4 separate regions of the Homo sapiens genome follow, and regions 1, 3 and 4 are each linked to region 2. The links are contacts of gene promoters, found by promoter capture Hi-C in blood cells and fetal thymus (Javierre and others, 2016). All regions are on one chromosome and are shown on one strand. The core of a region is centred on a gene start or on the middle of the fragment in contact, and the rest is flanking DNA. Distances in the headings are between cores, read along the strand shown.

Region 1 (6,546 bases), core at 1,796-4,295, 130 kb after region 2:
GCTCTGTTGCCTAGGCTGGAATGCAGTGGTGTGATCTTAGCTCACTGCAACCTCTGCCTCCTGGGTTCCACCTATTCTCCTGCCTCAGTCTCCTGAGTAGCTGGGATTAGTACCAGGCACGTGCCACCACACCCGGCTAATTTTGTATTTTTAGCAGAGACGGGGTTTCACCATGTTGGCCAGGCTGGTCTTGAAATCCTGACCTCAAGTGATCTGCCCACCTTGGCCTCCAAAGTGCTGGGATTAAAGGCGTGAGCCACCATGCTTGGCCCCTATAGATTAATTTGAAGAGAATTGGTATCTTTACTATAATATGTTGGATCTTCCAATTCAATCCCAATCTTGTGGTTAATGAAAGAATCTGAAGTAAAGGAAAGAACTATGGGATTGAAATGGGGTGCTGGGAGCAAATTTCTCTAGAATCTGAACTCTCTTCAACCTTTGATCAAATGGGGTCAGACTCCATCCTAGGGAACTGAGAAGGGCCTGGGAGACATAAATATGCCAACTCACCTGTGTAGGTTTACAGTTTACAACATTACCTTGGGTTTCACAACTCAACTGCAAGAAAGGAATTAGCATCCCCATTTTTTTTAAACCAGTGTTTTCATATCCTTTATTCCCAAGTCAGTGTATTTGTCAGTTTGAATGTTACATGTATGATAAAACAGATTATGAAAAGCATACTAACGAGAACATTATTTTATATAACTGATCATTGAATATGCAACCTCTTGCAACAATAACTTAATGGACCCAACTCTACCTTCTAAATGGACCAATTTTATGATTCTCCTAAAATGTTTTGAGTTGGGTATAGTTTCTTGTTGCTTCTTCCTGTGATCCAAAGCTTAAAAATGAGGCTGGGCACAATAGCTCAAGCCTGTCATCCCAGCACTTTAGGAGGCCAAGGTAGGAGGATCACTTGAGATCAGGAGTTTGAGACCAGCCTGGCCAACATGGTGAAACCCCATCTCTACTGAAAATACAAAAATTAGCCGGGCGTGGTGGTGCACACCTGTAATCCCAGCTACTCAGGAGGCTGAGGCAGGAGAATCGCTTTAACCTCAGAGGCAGAGGTTGCGGTAAGCTGAGATCGTGCCTCTGCACTCCAGCCTGGGCAACGGAGCGAGACTCCGTCTCAAAAAAAAAAAAAGGAATGAATCTCTGGAAACTAGCAATTAGAGCCAGACCTCCCTAGGACCAAGGAGACAGGAGTTGGAGAAAAAGACACTACAGGTGATGCCCACAGTCTCAAGCACTGTGGCATATGCTTGACCTCAGAGCATTCCAGTACTCAAGGTCAAGTGTGGCACCATCCGTATATCCTGTCATCGCAAATGCCCGCAACTGCTACAATTAACAGGATATGGGAGAGAGGAGGCACATCATGTGAGGAGGAATGAATCGCTCCCAACAATTATGTGAACATTTCGAAAATTTCTTTTTTTTTTTTTTTGAGATGGAGTCTGGCTCTGTCCCCCAGGCTGGAGTGCAGTGGCGCGATCTTGGCTCTCTGCAAGCTCCGCCTCGTGGGTTCACGCCATTCTCCTGCCTCAGCCTCCCGAGTAGCTGGGACTACAGGCGCCTGCCACCATGCCCGGCTAATTTTTTGTATTTTTAGTAGAGGCGGGGTTTCACCGTGTTAGCCAGGATGGTCTCGATCTCCTGACCTCGTGATCCGCTCGTCTCAGCCTCCCAAAGTGCTGGGATTACAGGCGTGAGCCACCGCGCCCGGCCAACATATCGAAAATTTCAATACCAAGGATTAACTTCTAAAATACAACTTTATATGCTAGTGCATGCCCGTAGTCCAAGCTGTTCAGGTGGCTGGGGCGGGAGAATTGCTTGAGCCCAGGAGTTCAGGGCTGCAGTGAGCCGTGTTAACGCCACTGCACTCCAGCCTGGGTGACAGAGTAAGGCCCTGTCTCAAAAAAATGAAATAAACTGGCCGGGTGCGGTGGCGTGCGCCTGTAATTCCAGCTACTCAAGAGGCTGAGGCACAAGAATCGTTTGAACCCGGTAGGCAGAGGTTGTAGTGAGCTGAGATCACACCACTGCAGTCCAGCCTGGGCCACAGAGACCCTGTCTCAAAAATAAATGCATGCAAGTTTGTAGACAGAAGCTATACAGCTAGCCATTCAATAAAATGCATGTGCAATATGGTGGAGCTGTTGTGAACATCCCCATTTGAATGCTGGGCAAACAGAGTAGTTCAAGGTCCCCAGTGCAGCAGGTCCTACTCATTTCAGAAGGGAACTCTGCAGAAACTATGCCCATCTGGGCAGAGCCCCCACTCCACTGGCCTGAGAGCCACGAATCCGGCGCGCGTCCTCCCCACCTTGCCCGCCAGGGGGCGGCAAGTCCCTGATCCGGGGTCGCCTGCTGCAGAGCTGGTGGGAGATGGTTGAGGGGCGTGGGTGGGTCAGCGTTCCTTGGGGACCCGTGAAGCCTGGGCTTAGGGCTCACAGCGTGGGTCCCCAGCACAGACAGGAGGCGGACAGCTTCCCGTGAACTGCAGGGGAGTCCCGGGACGCTGTCCTCCAGCGAGGTGGGGACCGGCTATGTCCCTCAGTTCCCCCTCGGTCCTCGGGCCACAGGGACATTAGACTAGGGGGTCAGTTCTGCCAGCCCTGCCCAGGCCTCTTCTGACCAGAGGAGCTGCGACGGACGCGGAGTTCAGGCCCCTTGGCGACCGCGGTCTCCTGAACTCGGCCCCTTCCCTGCTCCCATGGGGAAGAACCCTGCCCCTAGAACAGCCTCCCCTCCAGGTGTCTTCCCTACGCTACCCCTCCGCCGGCCGGGAACTCCGCCAGGCCTAGAGACGCCGACCCGGCCCTTTCTAGCTCCTCCCCGGCTCGGACCTGGTTCCCGCCCTCGGCCGCCCGCCAGTTCCCGAGGCGTACACGTGTAGATCCCGTCACGCCCGGAAGTCTCGCGTTTCTCAAACGCCTCGCGCAGTCGCCCTTGCGCTCAGGGAAGGGGCGGGGCGAACGGAAGCCGGGAAGGCGATTCATAGCTCGCGGGGTACGGGCGCGCGTGCGCACTCCGCAGCCCGTTCAGGACCCCGGCGCGGGCAGGGCGCCCACGAGCTGGCTGGCTGCTTGCACCCACATCCTTCTTTCTCTGGGACCTGGGGTCGCGGTTACTTGGGCTGGCCGGCGAACCCTTGAGTGGCCTGGCGGGGAGCGGGCCTCGCGCGCCTGGAGGGCCCTGTGGAACGAAGAGAGTAAGCACGGGAGGGGCGGCGGAGGGGCGCGAGTTTGAGGGCGACGCGATGAATGAATCGGAACGGGGGGTGGGGAGACGCGGGATCTGGAGGTGAGTGGGAGAGGACGAGGGGCCGGAAGGAAACAGGGACATCGAGTGTGTCCCTTCTCGGGTGCACCCTTTATTTTTGTTTTTGTTTTTGTTTGAGACAGAGGCTTGCTCTGTTTCCCAAGCTAGAGTGCAGTGGCGGGCGCGATCACGGCTCACTGTAGCCTCGAACTCCCGATCTCAAGCGATCCTCCCCCCTCGGCCCGGGTAATTAAAAAAATTTTTCTTAAGACAGGGTCTTGCTATGTTGCCCAGGCTGATCTCAAACACCCGGGCTCCAGTGATCCTCCCGCCTCGACCTTCCAAAGTGCTGAGGTTACAGGCGTGAGCCACTGCCCGGCCAGGTGCACCCTTTGTACAGGAAAAGGGGTAGGAAAGGCTTCGAGGTCCCTCTGAGCCCTCTGATCGCGTCCCTTTCCCACGCCAGGGCACACAGCATGGCAGAAAACCGAGAGCCCCGCGGTGCTGTGGAGGCTGAACTGGATCCAGTGGAATACACCCTTAGGAAAAGGCTTCCCAGCCGCCTGCCCCGGAGACCCAATGACATTTATGTCAACATGAAGACGGACTTTAAGGCCCAGCTGGCCCGCTGCCAGAAGCTGCTGGACGGAGGGGCCCGGGGTCAGAACGCGTGCTCTGAGATCTACATTCACGGCTTGGGCCTGGCCATCAACCGCGCCATCAACATCGCGCTGCAGCTGCAGGCGGGCAGCTTCGGGTCCTTGCAGGTGGCTGCCAATACCTCCACCGTGGAGCTTGTTGATGAGCTGGAGCCAGAGACCGACACACGGGAGCCACTGACTCGGATCCGCAACAACTCAGCCATCCACATCCGAGTCTTCAGGGTCACACCCAAGTAATTGAAAAGACACTCCTCCACTTATCCCCTCCGTGATATGGCTCTTCGCATGCTGAGTACTGGACCTCGGACCAGAGCCATGTAAGAAAAGGCCTGTTCCCTGGAAGCCCAAAGGACTCTGCATTGAGGGTGGGGGTAATTGTCTCTTGGTGGGCCCAGTTAGTGGGCCTTCCTGAGTGTGTGTATGCGGTCTGTAACTATTGCCATATAAATAAAAAATCCTGTTGCACTAGTGTCCTGCCATCCCACTGCCACTGATTCTTTCCTGTGTAAATTCTGTGTGTGCCTGAATAGGGATGGTAGGAAACGCTACAGGTATCTAGGTGAAAGGGGAACCCAAGTGTTTCTTGCCTCTATAGAGAGCATAGATTATGCTATGAGCAGTGTAACAAAACAGTACAGTGCAGAAACCCAGTCATCCCAATGTTTGTTTGTTTGTTTGTTTTTTGAGACAGAGTCTCACTCTGTCACCCAGGCTGGAGTGCAGTGGTGCAATCTTGGCTCACTGCAAGCTCCACCTCCTGAGTTCACGCCATTCTCCTGCCTCAGCCTCCTGAGTAGCTGGGACTACAGGTGCCTGCCACCACACCCTGGCTAATTTTTTTGTATTTTTAGTAGAGACAGGGTTTCAGCGTGTTAGCAGGGATGTTCTCGATCTCCTGACCTTGTGATCCACCCATCTCGGCCTCCCAAAGTGCTAGGATTACAGGCGTGAGCCACCGTGCCCAGCCCCAATGTTTGTTTTAAAGATTTTCGTCTTCTAGTTGGGTGCAGTGGCTCCAGCCTGTAGTCTGAGCTACTGGCGGAGGCTGAGGCGGAAAGAGTGCTTGAGCCTGGGAGTTTGAAGGTGCAGTGAGTTATGATCATGCCACCTGCACTCCAATCTAGATGACATACTGAGACCTAGTCTATGCAAAAAAACCACTTTTTTTTTTTTTCTGAGATGAAGTCTTGCTCTGTCACCCAGGCTGGAGTACAGTGGTGCCATCTTGGCTCACTGCAACGTTCGGCTCCTGGGTTCAAGTGATTCTCCTGCTTCATCCTCCCCAGTAGCTGGAATTACAGGTGAGTGCCACCACGCCCAGCTAATTATTTTTGTATTTTTTTAGTGGAAACACCATGTTGGCCAGGCTGTTCTCGAACTCCTGACCTCAAGTGATCTGCCCGCCTTGGCCTCCCAAATGCAAAAAATTTTTGAAAACTAGATGGGTGTAGTGGTTTGCACCTATAATCCCAGCTACCTCGTTAGCTGAGGCAGGAGGATCGCTTGAGCCCAGGAGTTCAAGGCTGCAGTGAGCTGTGATCACCGCACTACACTCCTCCAGCCTTGCTGACACAGCAAGACCGTATCTCAAAAAAAAAAAAAAAAAAAAAAAGGAAGCAAACTAAGACTTCAGGACCTTCTTAGTGTCAGGCTCCATGGTAGGGACTGACAAGTGGCTTCATTTAATTCCTGGACCTGCAGGGCCTACCTAGATGATACCCGGGCTTTCAGGTGCAGAGCCCTTCAGACCCTTTTTTTTTTTTTTTTTTTTTTTTGAGACAGCTTCACTCTGTCATCCAGGCTGGAGTGCAGTGGTGCGATCTCAGCTCACTGCAACCTCTGCCTCCTGGGTTCAAGGGATTCTTCTGCCTCAGCCTCCTGAGTAGCCGGGACTATAGGCATCCATCACCATGCCCTGCAATTTTTTGTATTTTTAGTAGAGAAGGGGTTTCACCATGTCAGCCAGGCTGGTCTCAAACTTCTGACCTGAAGCGTTCTGCCTGCCTTGGCCACCCAAAGTGCTGGGATTACAGGCATGAGCCACTGCGCCCGGCCTTCAGACCCTTCTCACTGGGCTGCTCCAGTGGCGAAGGAACCCCTCACTCCAAATAATTACTGGGCACACAGGTAATACTTTCTGTTTGGATATTTGTGGGATGACCTGATTTTTCATATTTATCAAACTAAAGTCAACTAAAGCAATGTTTATCAAAGCGGGTTGTGACCCATTTGTGGGTCACAGCTTCTTAAAAAAAGAAAAAGCCAGGCGCGGTGGCTCACGCCTGTAATCCCAGCACTTTGGGAGGCTGAGGCGGGCAGATCACGAGGTCCAGAGATCAAGACCATCCTGGCTAACATGGTGAAACCCTGTCTCTACTAAAAATACAAAAAATTAGCCAGGCGTGGTGGCACATGCCTGTAGTTCCAGCTACTCTAGAGGCTGAGGCAGGAGAATCGCTTGAACCAGGGAGGCGGAGGTTGCAGAGAGCCGAGATTGTGCCACTGCACTCCAGCCTGGGCGACAGAGCGAGTCCGTCTCAAAAAACAAAAACAACAACAAAAAAAATAAGGCTGGGTGTGGTGGCTCACGCCTATAATCCCAGCA
Region 2 (6,383 bases), core at 26-2,525:
TAAGGACAGGGAGGGGAAAGAGCTCTCACCTGCTGGGGGGCCTTGGACAGGTACAGGGGAACACGCTGCCCCCGGGGCAGCAGAGGGTCCGAGAGGAAGACATCTTCACAGCACACCACCGGGAACCCTAGGAGGAAACACCACTAGGGTGGCGGGCTGCGGGCTCCCACCCCTGGGCACTGGTTCCCAGAGGAGTTGGGGCAGCCTTGCGCCCCCGGGGGACCAAGGGAGGTACCTGCATCTGGGGGCGCCTGCTGTCCATTCCAGTGCCCTGTGGCAGGGGCCACGGGCCTGAGACCCCTGCCCGAGGCTGCTTCATACAGCGGCCAGAATGAGGGGTGACACAGCGTCCGGCCTGAGAACGAGGCTCCTGAGCTACAGTTGGCCCCCTAGGGTGAGGAGGACAGAGCACTGGAGCCTCAGGCCACCGCACAGCTCCCTGAGCACCCCAGCCAGTCCCACAGGTTTGCCCCCAACTCACCCACACCGGCCGAGGTCCTGCTTTGGCTTCATACTTGGGGTCCCAGGGCGCTAGTGGAGTCATCCTCGAGGGGGCCACCTCCCAGGCCACCTGGGGGGAACGGGGATCTGGGGGGACGCTTGGGGATTATAACAGGCTCACAGTCAGTGAGAGGCTCTTAGGGGTAGTAGAGGCAGCAGGGCCTGTCCTACCTGGGGCTCCGGGGGGCTGCTCAGTGGCCGGGCCTGGCAGGTGGTGGGGCAGCAGCAGCTGCTCTCTCCAGATCCAGGAAGGGCTACGGGATGGGGGCTGTGGGCTGGAGGGGCAGGGACTGAGGCTGCAGCCACACCGCCCCCACGCACCCTCCCCTGGAGCCCAAGGGTGCCTGGTGCAAGGGAGACCGAGGGACCCAATCTCCAGCAGGGACAATGGAGAAGCCTCCGTAGAGCGCGTGGTGAAGGCATGGAGGCCCCCAGTCGCTGTCCCCCCACGGCTCCGTCCGAGCCCCTCACCTGTCCCATGGGGGTGTCCCCAGCTCCCTGGGGGCGTCCGCTCCGGCGCTCCAGGGCTCGCCCTGGTCCTTGCCCGCCGGAAGGCCTGGTCCCTCGGGCGCCTCCTCCGGGCCCGCGCCCCACCGCGGCGGCGACCAGGGCAACATTCCGCGTTCCCGAGCGCAGGACGGTACCGCCGTGTCCCCGCCGCCCGGCCCGGCCCTCTCAGCCTCCCTCCGCGGCGCGGCGCGAACGTGCCCTCCTGGCGAACCCACCCCAGAGGCCTCGCGGCGACGCTGGCGCCCTGTGCGTCTCCCGGCCACGTGGCGCGTGCCCCCGCCGGGCTCCCGCGGGCGCCCCCTGGCGACTGGGCGGTGAATTCCGGAAACAGAGGCCCCCCCAACAACCCCGCGACGCACGTGCTCTCAGACACAGTTACACCTGAGGGCCACCCAGAGGGCTTCTGGCTTCTGTTTATTGCGGCTGACACGACACCTGCGACACCCGCGGTCCTTCCACCCAGACCCTCGACCCCAGAGGCAGCCAGGCCGGCAGGCCAAGGGTGCCCAGGCCCAGGCCACCCTCACCACGTGCTTCTCTGAGAGCGCGGAGCCCAGGCGCGTCTTCTGCTCCCGGGGTCCCGGGCGGGGTGGGCCCTGTGCCCCCACCTTCACCCCTAAGGCCGGTCCAGCAGGGCGTGGACGACAGCAGCGATGTAGGGGAGGCCCCTTCCCGGGGCCCCCTCCTCTTCCAGGATGTGGTGGGGCTGGCACAGTGACTCCTGGGGGAAGGGGCCGGGTTAGCTTCCCCACGGTGCCCCCTGCGGCTTCCGGCCTGTGGCAGGGGGTCGGGGGCAGACCCGAGCATCACCGTGCGCTCGGGGCTCGGCGACAAATGAGACGCAAGAAAGCTGTCAGCGATAACAGAAGGGAGGTGACACGGGGGGTTGGCGGACGCTCCGGGAGCATGAGAGGCCGGCATCTCAGGAGGGAGATGCTGGTGGGCACAGAGCCATGGCCACAGCCACCAACACGCGGAGCAGACGCGCGCGCGCGCGCACACACACACACACAGGCAGGGCGGCCACGGTCTGTACAGTTTATACACAGAGATAGGGACCCGGCCTGGGCCCCGAACCCCTACAAATATAGATCCTCTCTACAAAATAGAGATAATTTAGCCCCCCCATAGCAGCTGTTGGGGGGGGAAGGGGAGGGCACAGGAGGAAGGGGGAGACTCCAGCTCCTGCCACCCCTCACGGGGTACAGAGGGCAGGGGCAGGGCCGGCGGGGACATGAAGGCACCGTCAGCACTGAGAGGTGGGGACTCGTGGGGCTACTGGAGGGAGGCCAGAGGCTGGGGGCCCAGGGTCTGGGGGCACCAGAGTGGGGCCTCTGAGGTCAGTGTCTGTGAAGGGGGTGCACTAGTGTCTTTGGTTGGGGCTGAAGGCACCGCAGGTGGGGTCGGGTGGAGCAGGGACCTTATAAATAGAGAGGAAGGGAAAGGGGTGAGGGAGGGCCGATTTTGGGGCCTAGGAACCCAGGAGCCGAGTGTAGGTGACATAGAGCAGCAGCATGAGGACCACGTAGAAGACGACGAAGCCGCCCAGACCAGAGGGGGGCCAGAGGGGCGGTAGGGCCTTGCCCCCCACCCGCTTCACGGCCTCCAGCGCGGTCCGCAGCCCCCGGGCAGTGCCCTGGAGGAGATCCGAGGGCGAGCACAGGTCAGCCTGGGGGAGAGGAGAGCAGGTGGACAAGGACAAGGGACAGACGTCAGCAGCAGCAGCAGGACAGTCCCTCCCACCCCTGCCCTCACGTGCTGGGGCCAGAACCACGCCCACATGCTGACGTGCTGGGCAGGGGGAGTGCAGTGCAGGAGGAGTGCAGGGCAGGGCATGTGCAGGACAGGTGACATGCAGGACAAGATGGGGCCTGCAGGGCAGGGGATGTGTAGGACAGGTGACATGCAGGGCAGGGGGCATGCAGGGCAGGGGGCATGCTGGGCAGGGCAGGGGCAGCCTGTGCCTTCATCTGAGAGCAGACATCCGCTGCAAATGGAAGCCCACCATCCATGCCACATGCTCGGCTGAGTCCGGCATGCCACCACTCTTTAGAAAGCAGCCCCCATACCTCAGGCACCCCCATTTTTCGACAGGCTTCTAGAAAACTCTCCACATTCTTCCGAGCCTTGAGGGCACTGAGTTTTGGCTGGGGTGGGTGAAAGAAGAAAATGTGGTAAGGGAGAGGCCACAGGCGCCCCGGCCCATCCCCCACCTCTTCCCCAGCCCCAACTGACCACAGCAGGGGAGGGCACATGGATGAAGGGCACGGAGCGCGGCCGTAGCTGGTTGGCCAGCTGGCACAGGATGACCCCACTGGCCAGAGCCTCGGCCAGGTCCTCAGGCAGGGGCCGCTGCAGCCGGGACTCAAGGACCTGGCAGTGTAGACCACATAGAGCAGGGGTCAGGGAAGGAGAGGCGTCTGGGAGGCAGGGAGAGTGGGGGGCTCAGGGCTAGCAGGGAACTTGTGCCTGTCCCTTCCTGTCCTCAGGGGAGGTGCCAGAGTGGGCACAGAGGATGTGGAGGGAGGCTGGTCCCAAGGACAGCAACACAAGGAGGTGCCCGGCCCAGGCCCCTGCCCACGCAGCTCCCGCCTCTGCTCACCTGGCGCAGCTGAGTCATTAAGTCCTTCTCATCTGGAACCTGGGGGTACCGCCGAGGTCTCAGGACAGAGTCTGGTGAGGAAGGGCCTAGGAGAAAAAGGGGGGCATGGGGCTGCCTCCACTGCTCACCACTGACTCTGTAGCTGGGTCCCAGTGGCCTGGCACCTACACCTCCTGCCTCTCTGCTTGTGGGATTTTTTTTTATTTCATGGAGATGGGGTCTCGCTATGTTGCCCAGGCTGGTCTTGAATTCCTGGGCTCAAGCGATCCTCCCACCTGGGCCTCCTAAAGTGCTGCGATTACAGGTGTGAGCCACCACACCCGGCTTGCTTGTGGGATTTTCAACGCAAAGGTACAAAAGGTACAACAGACCCAGAGGGCTCCCAGGGCAGAAGGGTGATGTAGCCGTTGGTGCTGGCAAGCACTGGGTCAGCACTGGGGAGGGCAGGACACCCACCTGAGCCACTCTGAGAGGAGGAACGGAAGAGGAAGCTGTTTGGTCTCTGAATGGAGCCAAGTGGCCGTGGAGCAGGTGCTGTCGCTGGGGCCGGAACCAGGGACACAGCGACAGGGGCAGGTGAGACAGGCATCCCCTCTGTGTCCCTCTCTCCCAACCAGCCCTCACCAACACAGGCCCCATCCTCCTCCCAAAATCCCTGTCCCACCTGGTCCAGCTATGGGAAGGGGCTCTTGGGAGGCAGGGGCAGGGGCGGGGGCTCCCTGCCCCGCTGCAGCCCCTGCTTGGGAGGCACTGGACTTAGGCGAGCCGCTGAGGAGAGACAGAAGGGAATTAGAGGGATGATGGTCATAGGAAGAGGAGTGGGGAGGGGATGCTGGCAGGAAACCTACTTGTGCATGGCTTGAGTGGACACGGCGGCGGCCCCTCCCACAACAGCCCTGAGCCCTGGCTTCAAGAGGCTGGAACAAGGAGAGGTGGGGTCAGCTAGCCCCAAGGCAGAACGGCTCAGCGGGGCTCGGTGGCCCCATTTCCAGGGCTCAGTGTCCAGCAACAGCCCCGGGCGGCCCTGGGTCCCACCTATCCTTCCTCGGGGCCCCCCACGCCCCGCTCTGCTGCTGCTGCCGCCGTTCCCGCTCCTGCCACAGCTGCAAGGTGTCCGGGCGCCGCCGCTCCTCCCCTGCCGGCTCCTCCCGCCTGAGGGACCAAGACAGGGCAAGAGGGGCAGACCCCGGGGTCAGGGAAGGAGGCGGTTGGGGGGTGGGAGGATCGGGCAGTGGCGTCAGTTTGGGGGCTTGGGGTACCTGCTGCTTGGTGCCCTCTCCCTGTCCCCTGCCCCAGGGCTTAATTCGGGTGGTCGCTGCTCCTAAGGAGAGAACAGCAGAGCAGCTGAGGGCAGGCCTGTGCCCACGCCTGCCCTGTCCCCTCCTCCAGCTCCCCTCCCTTGGGAGAGGCATAGCTGGGCTCTCACCTCCACAGTGCCTCGCTCTTCATCCTCCCCGGGGACATGGCTGTCGATGAAGTCAATCTGCACAGGGTCTCCGTCCGCTGGGGAGGCCAGCATGTCAGCAAGTGAGCGGGGACCCAGGCCCTGGTCCAGCCCAGCTCCCGGCCAGCCCTGCTACTCACCTGAGCCATCCTCCTTGCGTTCTCTGGGTCCCCGGGGCTCCCGGGCCAGCTCTGAGATCCGGAATGACAGCTCTGAAAATTCATCTGTTGACTGTAAAGGCAGAGGCAGAGATGGGAGATGGCCTCTCTGTACATGGGGGCTCAGGACCTGGGGGGTCCTGTGTGGGACTAAGCTCAGGGTCTCTGCTGAGCCAGCCCTTCCCTGGGATGCTGGGCAGAGGGAAGGAAGAGGACAGCTCCAGCCTCTGCCTGGCACCCTGCAATTTGGAGGTCCCCAGTTCAGAGGTGCTCTCCCAGGGCTGACACCCTCAATCACCCATGGACAGGACGCCCTTACCTCATTTCCAGACCACCTCTTGCTGCCACTATCAACGCTGTGGAAGCCTGAGTCCAGCCCACCATCGTACCGATGTCCCGGAAATAGATCCTCTGCAGGGCTGGGGCCAGCCAGGCGGATCTGGTCAGCCTGATGCTGGACAACAGCCCCCCATCCTCCTGCCAGAAAGCAGGGGGTGCCTGGGGCCGGGAAGGGGCATTCAGTATCCCAGGGCTTCCTTCCTCCCCACCTAGGACTTACCAGGGACTGAAACTCGGGGGCCGAGAAGGGGCCAGGTCCCCCAGGGCCGACCCACGCTGCCCGGCCTCTGTGGACAAATACTTGAAGATGTGAAGTTTCCCCTTCAGGCAGACCTGTGTGCGGGGCAGCACACGCCAGGGAGTTGGCAGGGAGGGCAGCTCCCCGGATCCTGCTCAGCTATCCAAGGGGACCAACCCCACTCCTGCCTAGCCACACCCCTGTCCTCGTGGCCCCCCAGGCACCCGCCTCACCTGGGCAGGTGGACTCTGCAGAGGGTTGCTGTCCAGCAGAATGACCTGCAGGTGCCTCAGGCGGCAGAAGGAGACTGGGATTCGGGAGACGCGGTTACAGGAGAAATCCAGGCGGACCAGAGGGAGGTCCCCCAGCTCTGGAACAGGTGGGCAAGGGAAAAGTCAGGAACATGCTCAGGGCTGTGGCCTCGTGCTCACTCCCTCACCCTTGGCTCCAGCTGGCCAGTCACCCTGGGCCCAGCACAGCCTCTCCCCTGGGTGGCTCAAGTCATTCCCCGGGAGAAACCTCCCTGCTCCTCTCTCCACATGATTCTGGTCCACGGTCTAAGCGAGCCTCCCTGAGAGGGCCCATCTGGAC
Region 3 (5,920 bases), core at 2,747-5,246, 200 kb before region 2:
AGGGAAATCTTTTTTTTTTTTTTTTTTTTTTTTTGAGACAGAGCCTCACTCTCATCACCCAGGCTGGAGTGCAGTGGCGCAATCTCTGCTCACTGCAACCTCTGCCTCCTGGGTTCAAGCCATTCTCATGCCTCAGCCTCCCAAGTAGTTGGGATTACAGGCGTGCACCCCCACACTCAGCTAATGTTTGTATTTTTTAGTGGTACTGGAGTTTCACCAAGTTGTCCAGGCTGGTCTCAAACTCCTGGGCTCAAGCAATCCTCCAGCCTCAGTCTCCCAAATAGCTGCAATTACAGGCGTGAGCCACCATGCCTGGCTGAGAGGGAATCGTTAAGAAGGAGTGGGCAGGGGCAAGAACACTGTCAGAGACAGTGTGTTGGCCACGGCTACTACAGCAAATTGGCTGCTTCCTGTGATCGCACGGGTTGAGGGCTCAGTTCCACAAGGCTGCCCCAGCATCAGATGCCAGTCGCAAGCTCACGTGGTGCCTGTGCTTCTGACACAGGGCTATAAAAATTGAGGTTCCCATGATCCCCTCCTTGGGTTCAATTAATTTTCTAGAATGGTACCTAGAACTCAGGGAAGCCCTTTACTTACATGTGTCCCCTTATAAAGGATATTATAGGGCCTGGCGCCATGGCTCATGCCTGTAATCTCTGTGCTTCAGGAGGTTGAGGGGGGAGGTTCACTTGAGCACAGGAGTTTGAGACCAACCTGGGCAACATAGCGAGACCCCGTCTCAAAATAAAGATATAGGATATTACAAAGGATAGTTATGAACAGCCAGATATAAGAGATACACAGAGGGAGGCCTGGGGGAAGGGGTGCAAAGCTTCCGTGTCTTCTCTAGGCACTGCACCCTCTAGGAAGCTCCATGAGTTCAGTTATCCAGAAGCCCTCTGCATCCCTTTTGGGTTTTTATGGGCTTCATTATAAAGGCATGATTGGGCCAGGCACAGTGGCTCATGACTGTAATCCCAGCACATTTTGAGGCTGAGGTGGGAGAATCAATTGAGCCCTCAGGTGGCAACTGAGGCTGCAGTGAGTTGTGATTGCACCACTGTACTCCAGCCTGGGTGACAGAGAGAGAGCCTGTCTCAAAAAAAAAAGACAAAACAAAAAACCTGGCCAATACGGTGAAACCCCATCTCTACTGAAAATGATCGTCACCTGATCCCCACCCCTTGAAGATGCCTCCACCCTCTCCATACGCATTTGGTCAGCACTAACTGCCCTGGGTGACAGGCACACTGCACTGGGTGACAAGGACCCAAAGCTACACCAGCCAGTGCCCCAGCCCTCAAGCACCTCCCTGTGCAGAAGGAAGACAACACAGAAAAGGGAAGCATGGTTGTCACAGAGGCCCAGAGGACTGCTGGCTGATGTCACTGAATGGGGAAGTGGTTGGCCGCACAGGCCCCAAGCTCAGACCTGATGCCACAGTGGACGTTCCTGGGCCATGTGACCTCAGGCTAGGCTCAGAACCACCCTCAGGGCCTCCGTTTCTTTCTGTATAAATTGAGGACCATACAGAGATGCTGCCTACCTCCTGGGATTGTCCAGAGAGTTAAAAGCTCTTTTAAAATGCGCCTGCTGGGCCAGGCACAGTGTCTCACACCTGTAATCCCAGCACTTTGGGAGGCTGAGGCAGGCAGATCACAAGGTCAGGAGGTCGAGACCAGCCTGAACAACATAGCAAAGCTCCATCTCTACTAAAAATACAAAAAGTAGCCGGGCGGGCATGGTGGCACGTGCCTGTAATCCCAGCTACTCAGGAGGCTGAGGCAGGAGAATCACTTGAACTCAGGAAGTGGAAGTTGCAGTGAGCCGAGATTGTACCATTGCACTCCAGCCTGGGTGACAGAGCGAGACTCCGTCTCAAAAAATAAAAATAAATCAAATGCACCTGCTGGCAGGGCGCGGTGGTTCATGCCTGTAATCTCAGCAACTTTGGGAGGCCTAGGCAGGTGGATCACCTGAGGTAAGGAGTTCAAGACCAGCCTGGCCAACATGGTGAAACCCCATCTCTGCTAAAACTACAAAAATTAGGTGAGCATAGTGGTGGGCACCTGTAGTCCCAGTTACTCGGGAGGCTGAGGCAGGAGAATCGCTTGAACCTGGGAGGCAGAGGTTGCAGTGAGCCGAGATGGTGCCACTGCACTGCAGCCTGGGCGACAGAGTGAGACTCCGTCTCAAAATAATAATAATAATAAAACAAAATGCACCTGCCATTTCTTTCCATCAGGTATGGCCATGGAAATGAGGGTCATAAGGGAAGCAGTGTATCCTCACAGATCCCCAGAAACGAGAGACACAGCCATGCAGGGCCACTTGGGAAAGCACCAGGGTCCCTCAGGGAGTAGAGGAAGCCAAGGGAACACAGGGGTGAGACCCTTTGTTATGCTTTCCCTGGAAAAGGCAAGGAAGGGTATGCAGGTTTAGGATTGGCTAGTTAGAATAACGTTAGCAGGCTCTGGGGATTAGAGGCTGTCATTTGTTATTTGGTGTCTGGCCCAGGATGATGAAGGCAGAGAAATACTGCCTTCTGAAGGGTGAGAGGCAGCTAGAAGAGCTGGTTCAGTGTTGGGGCCCTGGATTAGCTGGTTTGCATATGAAAGGCACACTCAGCCAGGAGCCGTGGCTCAAGCCTGTAATCCCAGCACTTTGGGAGGCCGAGGTGGGCAGATCACAAGGTCAGGAGATGGAGACCATCTTGGCCAACGTGGTGAAACCCCGTCTCTATTAAAAATACAAAAATTAGTTGGGCATGGTGGCACGCACTTGTAATCCCAGCAACTTGGGAGGCTGAGGCAGGAGAATCGCTTGAACCCAGGGGTGGAGGTTGCAGTGAGCCGAGACCGTGCCACTGCACTCCAGCCTGGCAGCAGAGTGAGACTGTTTCAGAAAAAAAAAGGGACACTCTCAGAGGGGTCATTTGCTAGCTCTAACAACTGGCTGGCTCTGGCAGGGGCAGTCCCTCTCTCTGCTCTTGGAGGTCCAAGATGCCAGAATATCAGCAATCCAGTGGGGCTTGGTGAGGTGGCTCACACCTGTCATCCCAGCACTGAGGGAGGCCGAGGCAGGAGGATTGCTTAAGCCCAGGAACTTGAGACCAGCCTAGACAACATAGTGAGACCCCATCTCTCAAAAAAAAAAAAAAATTAGCCGTGTGTGGTGGTGTGTGCCTGTGGTCTTCACTACTTGGGAGGCTGAGGTCAGCAAATTGCTTCAGCCCAGGAGTGATGGTGATCGCGTCCCTACACTCCAGTCTGTGGACACTCTAGTACCTTGAGGACAGTACAGCCTGATTACAGAAGCTTTACAGCAAGTCTTGAAGTCAGGTATTATAAATCTTCCACCTTCATTCTTCATTTGTAAAGGCCTTTTGGCTATTCTAGGTCCTTTGAATTACTGTGAGAATATTACAGTTGGCTTGTGAACTCCACAAAGCCTATGGGATGTCGATTGGGATCAGAGGAAAGCAGGAACGGTGGGTGCCAAGGAGAGGTGAGGGGCTGGGGGCAGGGACGGATGTGGCCAGTGAGGACAGTAGGATACTTGTTGGGGGAATGTGGGGACATCCAAGCAGTGGTTCTCATAATGCGGTGCAGGGTACTTACCCCCTCCCTGCCCCTGCTCCCCACACACGACTTCCCACGCCTCTCCCATGAGCACCTGCACTAAGGGGCTGCATTTAGGCTCTGCCCACATTGGAATCATGCCCTCCTCCAGGCCCTCCTCCTCCTCTCAGAAGCCCTGTCTGTGAGAGAGCCACAGCCCCAGGCTCAGTCCCAGGTTCTGTCACTGCTGTTGGGGGAGGGAGGATGAACAAATCCAGGAGACCTCACACCATCCCAGAGCAGAAATCCTGACACAGAAGGAATCTCCCATGGGGGTTCAGCTGGATCCAGGGCCTGAAAGTGACATAAACATGCATGTTGCATCTAAGGAGACTGCACGTGGCAGCATTGGGCAGCATGTGCCCTCCAGAGCTACCCAGAGGCTGTTGGCTATAAGTTCTATGTGGCCCCCACATTGGACAGCCTGGTAAGCAGGTGACCTTTCAGCCAGGTCCTCAGGTGGGGCGGGCCACCCTCTCGAGGCCCTGCCCAGACAGCCAGGGGGTCCCTTGTCCTCTCTGCAGCCCATCTTTCCAGCTGTGACCAGTTCAGCCCAAAGCCCCCGTCCCTCAGTTTCCCTGTGGGTTGAATGGAGATAATGTGTCACCTCAGAATGTTGTGAAGCAGAGAATGAGGTGTTTAGGGCCTGGCTCAGACGGAGGGGTTTCCTGAGCATGGGGAACCTGTTTCCTCAGGCCTGTAAAGGGAGGGAGGGCGGGCCGGCCTGGCTGGCCCTGGGAAGCACAGAGGAGCCTACTAGGACCAGGGAAGAGACTAAGAGAAGGGAGGCCCGTCCCTGCCTGCTTCTGTCTCAAGAAGGCTGATGTCACTTCCTCTGATGAAATCCTGTCTTCCCCCACGGCCCCTCAACTGATGCCACCTCACCCTGGAGAGGGTGGGCAGAGCCTCCTACGGAGGGAGCCCTGTGCACCACCAAAGCTCCCTGCTCCAGTGACCACCCCCGGGCAAAGGCCGGCAGATCCCCGTTAGAGATGGGCCCAGGACTGTGTGTGGGGTGGGTGTTGCTCTGAGCCTTCACTTTCTTCTGTGTCCAAGGAAGCTTCTGGATCAGCCAAGGGCTCAGGTGTGTGGAGGGAATGACCTGAGGGGCTGTATGAAGGGACAGCCTCCTGTCCTGCACTCAGAAGTTGAGGCCCAGAGATTCCACCCTTCAGCCAGGCCCAGACATCTGGGTTGAGGGGGCTCCAGTCCTGTACCCACTACTGCAAGTCACGTGGCCTGGGGCAGGGCTTCTCAGAGCCCTGTCCCCTCCTGTGTAGGGCGGGACGTCAGAGGGGAGCCTGCAGACCCAGTCTCATGTCTTGGGGGTCAAGGGGTGGCTTCCAGAAGGACCAGTCTCTGTGTAGGGGACCATTAGCCCCCTCACCCCTTGAGCAAGGTCGTGGTGCCTGCACCGAGAGAGGGCCTGGGGCAGGAAGAGGCCAGCTGGGTCGTGGTGGTGCCTGGGGACTGCATGGGAGCCCCTGCCAGGGAGGGAGAGGGACAGAGGACAAGCTGGGGGCTCTTCTGCTTGGGCTGGGGGCTGAGCACCTGTGACCTCCACCGGCTTCCTTCTCCTCCTCTCTGAGGACTGAATCTGGGGCGCAGAAGGACAGAGATTCAGGCCTGCCTTTCCTCTCCCTGAAAGAGCCTGCGCTGGCCCTGGGCAGAGAGAAGGATGAGAAGTGAGGCTGAGTGAGGTGGGGTCTGCAGGGATCCAGGTGGGAGGGGCCCAGCCAGCCAAGGTCAGGCCCAGCCCCCCAAGGTCAGGCCCAGCCCCTCGGCAGGAGGACGGGGACCGCGGCCTTTGGGCAGGGCTGACTTGGCACTGACCACAAGGGAGGCCCTTTTGCAATAGGGGAAAATAAGCCAGATGGATAAAGGAAGTGCTGGTCACCCTGGAGGTGCACTGGTTTGGGGAAGGCTCCTGGCCCCCACAGCCCTCTTCGGAGCCTGAGCCCGGCTCTCCTCACTCACCTCAACCCCCAGGCGGCCCCTCCACAGGGCCCCTCTCCTGCCTGGACGGCTCTGCTGGTCTCCCCGTCCCCTGGAGAAGAACAAGGCCATGGGTCGGCCCCTGCTGCTGCCCCTACTGCCCTTGCTGCTGCCGCCAGCATTTCTGCAGCCTAGTGAGTACCCAGGACCACCCAGATGTGGGCTCTGCCCAAACCACAGGAGGGGCCAACCCGAGACAAAGGTGGGACATCTTGGGGAGGGCCCAGGCTCCCACCACCAGGAAACAAGGGCGGGTCCCACAGGGGCGGGTGACCCCATCCTCTCCCCCTCCTCCCTCCCCCATG
Region 4 (6,837 bases), core at 1,498-3,997, 130 kb before region 2:
ACTGGGAGTATAAATTAAAAATTTTTAATAGCGACATAGGAGGGAGAGAATAGAATGAAAGACAAACAGTCTTATTCCTCCAAATATACTTTGTTTTGTATATTTGACTTTGGAAATGTATGCATTTTATATGATTATATTAAAAGGTTTTAAAAAATCAGGCCAGGCACAGTGGCTTACACCTGTAATCCCAGCACTTTGGGAAGCCCGGGTGGGTGGATCACTTGAGGTCAGGAGTTCGAGACCAGCCTGGCCAGCATGGTGAAACCCCGTTTCTACTAAAAATATAAAAATTAGCCAGGCGTGGTGGTGCACACCTGTAATCCCAGCTACTTGGGAAGCTGAGGCACAAGAATCGCTTGAACCCAGGAGGCGTATGTTGCAGTGAGCTGAGATCGTGCAACTGGACTCCAGCCTGTGTAACAGAGCAAGACTCTGCCTCAAAAAGTAATAGTAAAATAAAATACAAATACAAAAAAATTAGCCGGGTGTGGTGACAGGTGCCTGTAGTCCCAACTACTTGGGAGACTGAGTAGGCCAGTCACTGGAACTCAGGAGGTGGAGGTTGCAGTGAGCCAAGATTGTGCCACTGCACTCCAGCCTGGGTGACAGAGCTAGACTCTCTGTCTCAAAAAACAAAAAACAAACAAACAAAAAAAACTAATAAATCATGCTGTATTTTACCTTAAATTGAAAAGTATCAAGACTGAGCACAGTGGCTCAAGCCTGTAATCCCAGCACTTTAGGAAGCCGAGGCAGGCAAGTTGCCTGAGCTCAGGAGTTCAAGACCAGCCTGGGCAACATGGCAAAACCTCGTCTCTACTAAAAAGTACAAAAAATTAGCCAGGCATGGTAGCACGTGCCTGTAGTCCCATAGTCCCAGCTACTCAGGAGGCTGAGGCATGAGAATCACTTGAACCCAGGAGGCGGCGGTTGCAGTGAGCCAGGATCTCGCCACTGCACTCCAGCCTGGATGACAGAGTGAGACCCTGTCACAAGAAAAAAAAAAGTTGGGGTTCGGAACAGTATTTGAGGGTACATGGATAAAACAAGATTAGCCAAATGTTGATGACTGCTGAAGCAGGATTTTATTACTATATTTTCTCTACTTTTGCATATTCTTGAACATTTCTGTGACTAAACGTTTTTTGTTTATTTAAAAAAAGAGGCTGACGCAGTTTTGGCATGCAGGAAGTGTTGGAGCTGAGACTCGAAACTGTCCCCCAGGCCTTGGCCATGCTGATAAATATCTAGGCCCTACAGGAGTTCGTGTCCATGAACCCAGTAAACGCAATTCCTCAGCCTTAAAATCTAGTCACTGACTCATTTCAGGCCCCAGCACAGACGAAAACAAGCCATTCTGTTTGCCCAGTTTACATTGCGGGTCTCCAAGAAGTGGAATGTTCACCAATGATTTTAAGAAAACAGGGCCTGGCGCGGTGGCTCACGCCTGTAATCCCAGCACTTTGGGAGGCCGAGGCAGGCAGATCACCTGAGGTTGGGAGTTTGAGATCAGCCTGACCAACATGGAGAAACCCCATTTCTACTAAAAATACAAAATTAGCCGGGTGTGGTGGTGCATGCTTGTAATCCCAGCTACTCAGGAGGCTGAGGCAGAATTGCCTGAAGCTGGGAGGCGGAGGTTGCAGTGAGCCAGAGATCGTGCCATTACATTCCAGCCTGGGCAACAAGAGCAAAACTCTGTCTCAAAATAATAATAATAATAATAATAATTAAAAAAAAAAAAACAGTACGAGTGTGAAGATCGGAAGGTGGAGGTGAGGGAGGTGAGAGGTCTTGGGCCTGCCCACATTCTTCCTAAGCTATTTTGGCTGGCCCAGGCTGGGAGGCCAGGAATTGCTTTTCCTCTTCAAAAGAAAAGGGGACAAAAAATTAGCTGGGCGTGGTAGCACTCATCTGTAGTCCCAGCTACTCAGGAGGCTGAGGCAGAAGAATTGCTTGAACCGGGGAGGCAGAGGTTGCAGTAAGCTGAGATTGTGCTGCTGCCCTCCAGCCTGGGTGACAGAGCGAGACTCGGTCTCAAAAAAAAAAAAAAAAAAAATGGGGAGGAGGACAGGGCATGGTGGTTCATGCCTATAATTCCAGCATTTTGGGAGGCCAAGGCAGGCAGATCACTTGAGGCCAGGAGTTCGAGACCAACCTGGGCAACACAGTGAAACCCTTTCTCTACTAAAACTACAAAAAATTACCTGGGCATGGCAGCACATGCCTGTAATTTCAGCTACTCGGGAGGCTGAGGCATGAGAATCACTTGAACCTGAGAGGGGGAGGTTGCAGTGAGCCAAGATGGCACCACTGCACTCCAGCCTGGGCAACAGCGTGAGACTCTGTCTCAAAAAAAAAAAAAAAAAAAAAAAATGGCTGGGACACCGTGACTCATGCCTGTAATTCCAGCACTTTGGGAGGCAGAGGCAGGAGGATCCCTGTGAGGCCAGGAGTTCAAGACCAGCCTGGGCAACATAGTGAGACCCAGTCTCTATAAAAAAATTAAAAATTAGCCAGGCGTGGTGGTGTATTCCTGTAGTCCCAGGTACCGGGGAGGTTGAGGTGGGAGGATCCCTTGAGCCCAGGACTTCGAGGCTGCAGTGAGCTATGATCACGCCACTGCACTCCAGCCTTGGCGACAGAGCAACACCCATCTCTTAAATATTATTTATTATAAGGCTTTTGGGCTGGGTGCTGTGGCTCACGCCTGTAATCCCAGCACTTTGGGAGGCCGAGGCGGGCGGATCACGAGGTCAGGAGATTAACACCATCCTGGCTAACACGGTGAAACCCTGTCTCTACTAAAAATACAAAAAATTAGCCGGGTGTGGTGGCATGCGCCTCTAGTCCCAGCTACTCAGTAGGCTGAGGCAGGAGTATGGCGTGAACCTGGGAGTCGGAGCTTGCAGTGAGCCGAGATCGCACCACTGCACTCCAGCCTGGGCAACAGAGCGAGACTCCGTCTCAAAAAAAAAAAAAAAAAGACTTTTGATTGGGTTAGACCTCACCAGTTAGAGATGCTCCTTTAGTTATCTGAGGCTGCTGAGTGGGGTAATCCTAGACCTGGATGCTAGTTTGAAGAAAGCAAGTCTCAGTGCTGGAAGGGGTCATTCAAGGTCATCCATGAGCTTCTGCTGAGCCAGGTGCTATAGGTGGGCTAGGTGGGACAGGAGACAGGTCAGCATCCAGGGTCCTTGAAGGGACCATGTCCTTAAGAAGAGGTAGGATGCCTCCAATGCAGTGGTCCACTGCACGGTGTGGCTGAGACTGCTACAGAGGACACATGGGAAGACCTGCCAGGGTTGGGGGTGGGGGAGGAGCAAGGGCGTCATCCTGGAAGTCACCCCCAAATAGGGCCAAGAAAGATCAGAGAGACAGCAAAGCTCTAATACCACCCTCTGCAAACCCCACCTATGGCGACCTCTCACCTCCTGTCTCCTATTCTCAAACTGGCCTATGCCTAAGGGCCAACCCAGAGACACTTCCACACTGGTCCCTGTCACACGAGACACGCTGGAAGATGGGAATGGCCAACCTCCAGACACACACACATCCAGGCTCCTATCCCCAGAGTGCGTGTTCTCATCCTACTGCATCTCGGAGGCTGGCAGGGTGAATCCCCCAGCAGGTCAGGTAGGTCTGAGGTGTCTCAGCCTGAACTCATGACTCCAAACCACCTTCACGCCTTCGTCCCAACCCAGAAGGAAGAGATCCAGGGAGGAGGGCACACATCGGGCTGCAGGCCAACACACTGACCCTGAGCCTGGCCTCCCCAGCATCAGGCTGAGGAACAGGAGGGTTGAGATGAGCCCCATTAGGTATGTGTGAAGTCTCTGGGACATGGGATGATGCCAGCTGCTGGGATGCAGAAAAGTTGGAGGCAGGGGACAGAGTCTCATTCAAAAGAATTTGTCCATAATCCAAGCTGGGTGTTGTGGCTCACGCCTATAATCCCAGCACTTTGGGAGGCCCAAGCAGATGGATCACTTGAGGTCAGGAGTTCAAGACCAGCCTGGCCAACATGCTGAAACCCCGTCTCTACTAAAAATATAAAAATTACCCGTATGTGGTAGCCCAGGCCTGTAATCCCAGTTACTTGGGAGGCTGAGGTGGGAGGATTGCTTGAACCCAGGAGGTGGAGGTTGCAGTGAGCCCAGATCATGCCACTGCACACCAGCCTGGGCAACAAAGCGAGCAAAGCGAGACTCCATTTCAAAAAAAAAAAAAAAAAATTTTAGCTGCGTGTGCTGGCACATGCCTGCAAATCCCAGCTACTCCGGAGGCTGAGGCATGAGAATCACTTGAACCTGGGAGGCAGAGGTTACAGTGAGCCGCCAGCAACTGTATCTCAAATAAATAAATAAATAAATAAGAATTTGTCTGGAATCTGGGTGAGGCAGAGGAAAATGAAAGAAACCAGAAAAGCAAAGATAAACAGATTTGCAGGGTGGGGTGGAGGATGGAGAATTCAATGGAGCTGAGCACAGCAAGGAGGAGAATGTTGGGCTGAAGGCCTGAGCTTGCTGGGGAGATGTCCTTGATGTCCACACTGGGCATAGAAGGTTGATTGATGCCAGTGGTTAGGGTCCCAAAGAGCCCAGGGACAGCTGGAGGTAGAAAGAAAGGGTGTGGAGGCACGGAAGATGGGCCCATAACCCAGGAAAAGGGAGCCACAGATAGGGGAAATGTATGCAGAAATCGCCACCCTCACTCTGGGAGGCAGGTCCCGACAGATCCCCTTAGCAGGGGACCAATGCCCAGGACCTTGGGGAGATGGTTGGGGACGGGGGAAGCAGCAGATGGTCTGTTACTCAATGAGCACACAGGAGATGTTGGGGGGTCTTGGGGTGGAGAGTGATTCCATGGAAGCCTCTGGATTGGACAAGGAGATGTTGGTGTGAGGTTTTTCCACAGTCCAAGAGAGGCGATTGGACAAGGAGATGTTGGTGTGAGGTTTTTCCACAGTCCAAGAGAGGCTGGTAGAAGAAAAGCAGGTTCTGCTATCAGGCCGGGTGCAGTGGCTCACACCTGTAATCTCAGCCCTTTGGGAGGCCCAGGTGGGAGCATCACATGAGGACAGGCATTCGAGAGCAGCCTGGGCAAGATGGTGAAACCCTGTCTCTACAATAAAAACACAAAAAAATTAGCCGGGTGTGGTGGTGTGCACCTGTAGTCCCAGCTACTCAGGAGGCTGAGACCGGAGGATCACTTGAGCCCAGGAGTTCAAGACCAGCCTGGGCTGGTCAAGACCCCATTTCTAAAAAAATTTAGCCAGGCATGGTGGTGTATGCCTGTAGTTCCAGCTACTTTGTTGGCTGAGGCAGGAGGGTCCCTTGAGCCCAGGAATTTGAGGCTGCGCTGAGCTATGATTGTGCCACTTCACTCCAGTCTGGGTGACAGAGCGAGACCCTGTCTCTAAAAATAAATAAATAAGCCAGGCGCAATGGCTCATGCTTGTAATCTCAGTACTTTGGAAGGCCAAGGCGGGAGGATCACTTGAGCCCAGAAGTTGGAGACCAGGCTGGGCAACATAGAAAGACCCCATCTCTACCAAAAATTTAAAAAATTATCTGGGTGTGATGGTGCACACTTATAGTCCCAGCTACTCAGGAGGCTGAGGTGGGAGGATCACTTGAGCCCAGGTCAAGGCTACAGTGAGTTATGATCACACCACGGCACTCCAGCCCGGGCAAAAAGCGAGACTGTCTCTAAACAAATAAATAAATAAAAAGCCATTTTTTTCACATATGAATGGACTCCTGGGAATGCAAGCTTGGAAATGGGGAGGCCGAAGCCCTTGCCTCTCTGCCTCCTCGCAGCCCTGGCCCGTCTCTCGTCTGTCTCCCTGGGTTTCAGTCCCAGCTCCAGTGCCTACTGACCATGTGACCTGGGGATCATTCCCTTTCCTCTGAGAGCCCCCCTCTTCCTCATCTGAACACTGAGGAAATGACTGGCCTCATATGGTTGCCAGAGCTCAGTTGGGGCCCTCAGAAGGTCGAGTCATTGTTTTTCAGGAGCTGATGAGATCATGGCACGTGTGCCATTGACCTCTGTCCTTCCTCCCTCCCCACCTTTGACTCAGCCTGTCCTCTCCTCCTCTGGACGACCTCTGGGACATCCTGCCCTTTTCCCGTGTTCATTGTTTCTGCAGCAGATGAGCAGGATGTCGGGGATGCTGGGAAATGAAAGGCCCCTGGTCTCTCTGCCGGTAGGCTCTGAGGCAGGGGGTTCAGACCCTCTCGCCTCGGGCTCCTGCTGGCTGGCCCCACACGTGCCCCCTCCAGCCCCAGCCCTGCTCAGTGGAGAAAACAGATAAGGCAGGAAATGTGGCCCCAGTTCTAGGAAGCTCAGAGTCCCAGGAGGCAGAAGACATGCCTCTCACCCGCTCACTGACACCTGCTATTTGCTGGGGCCTGGGAGTGGCATGGACAGCTCTGAGTGGGGCCAGCTTTCACCCTCCCAGGGTGCAGCATGAACTCTAACATCCAGGCCAGGCCAGGCTCCAGGAAAGAGGATGCAAAACTTCATGCAGCCTGTGCAGATTAAACACCAGCCCCAGCTCTGTGAAGGGTAGGTCAGCTCAGCCTGGAGGATGGGAAGGCTTCCTGGAGGAAGAAGCCCTTGAAGGAAGTAGGTGGAACAGAAACTTGCTGTTCTCCTCTCTGGGAGTCTGAGACTGCCCTTTCTTTTTTTTTGAGACAGAGTCTCACTGTGTCTCCCAGGCTAGAGTGCTGGAGTGCAGTGGCACAATCTCAGCTCACTGCAACCTCTGCTTCCCAGTTCAAGTGATTCTTCTGCCCCAGTCTCCCAAGTAGCTGGGACTATATAGGT

What was found. The method cuts DNA at HindIII sites, captures the fragments that hold promoters and counts their contacts. A CHiCAGO score of 5 or more calls a contact.
Region 1: a contact is called between the fragment with the promoter of POP7 here and the fragment with the promoter of SAP25 in region 2, in 11 of 17 cell types (total CD8 T cells, neutrophils, naive B cells and 8 more). The highest score is 9.3, in total CD8 T cells.
Region 3: a fragment that was not itself captured here is called in contact with the fragment with the promoter of SAP25 in region 2 in 1 of 17 cell types (endothelial precursors); the score reaches 5.3 in endothelial precursors.
Region 4: a fragment that was not itself captured here is called in contact with the fragment with the promoter of SAP25 in region 2 in 13 of 17 cell types (erythroblasts, naive CD4 T cells, total CD8 T cells and 10 more); the score reaches 13.0 in erythroblasts.

Annotation. Positions count from the first base shown.
Region 1 is chr7:100,703,076-100,709,621 of GRCh38, forward strand. POP7 (POP7 ribonuclease P/MRP subunit) reads left to right here and starts at 3,046. Exons shown (of 2, transcript NM_005837.3): 1 at 3,046-3,229; 2 at 3,746-4,411. The coding sequence starts at 3,756. The coding sequence ends at 4,178. RefSeq lists an enhancer at 2,385-2,654. The HindIII fragment of the contact is 8,002 bases long and covers 849-6,546 here.
Region 2 is chr7:100,572,625-100,579,007 of GRCh38, forward strand. It overlaps SAP25 (Sin3A associated protein 25), which reads right to left and starts at 1,276. Exons shown (of 6, transcript NM_001348680.2): 1 at 973-1,276; 2 at 673-776; 3 at 482-588; 4 at 236-389; 5 at 30-127. The coding sequence starts at 1,118. LRCH4 (leucine rich repeats and calponin homology domain containing 4) reads right to left here. Exons shown (of 18, transcript NM_002319.5): 5 at 6,026-6,162; 6 at 5,775-5,887; 7 at 5,535-5,634; 8 at 5,198-5,288; 9 at 5,040-5,116; 10 at 4,873-4,934; 11 at 4,649-4,765; 12 at 4,462-4,530; 13 at 4,278-4,381; 14 at 4,070-4,153; 15 at 3,614-3,699; 16 at 3,247-3,384; 17 at 3,081-3,158; 18 at 1,387-2,680. The coding sequence ends at 2,483. RefSeq lists enhancers at 2,140-2,694, 2,695-3,248. The HindIII fragment of the contact is 23,848 bases long and covers 1-6,383 here.
Region 3 is chr7:100,367,972-100,373,891 of GRCh38, forward strand. PILRA (paired immunoglobin like type 2 receptor alpha) reads left to right here and starts at 5,516. Exons shown (of 7, transcript NM_013439.3): 1 at 5,516-5,749. The coding sequence starts at 5,686. RefSeq lists an enhancer at 2,433-3,184. The HindIII fragment of the contact is 1,363 bases long and covers 3,316-4,678 here.
Region 4 is chr7:100,438,568-100,445,404 of GRCh38, forward strand. PPP1R35-AS1 (PPP1R35 antisense RNA 1) reads left to right here. Exons shown (of 3, transcript NR_187540.1): 3 at 1,167-1,310. Among named protein-coding and RNA genes, the nearest start is that of PPP1R35-AS1, 5.3 kb to the left of the region's middle. RefSeq lists enhancers at 5,266-5,950, 5,951-6,635, 6,546-6,705 and a cis regulatory region at 5,751-6,604. The HindIII fragment of the contact is 6,057 bases long and covers 1-5,776 here.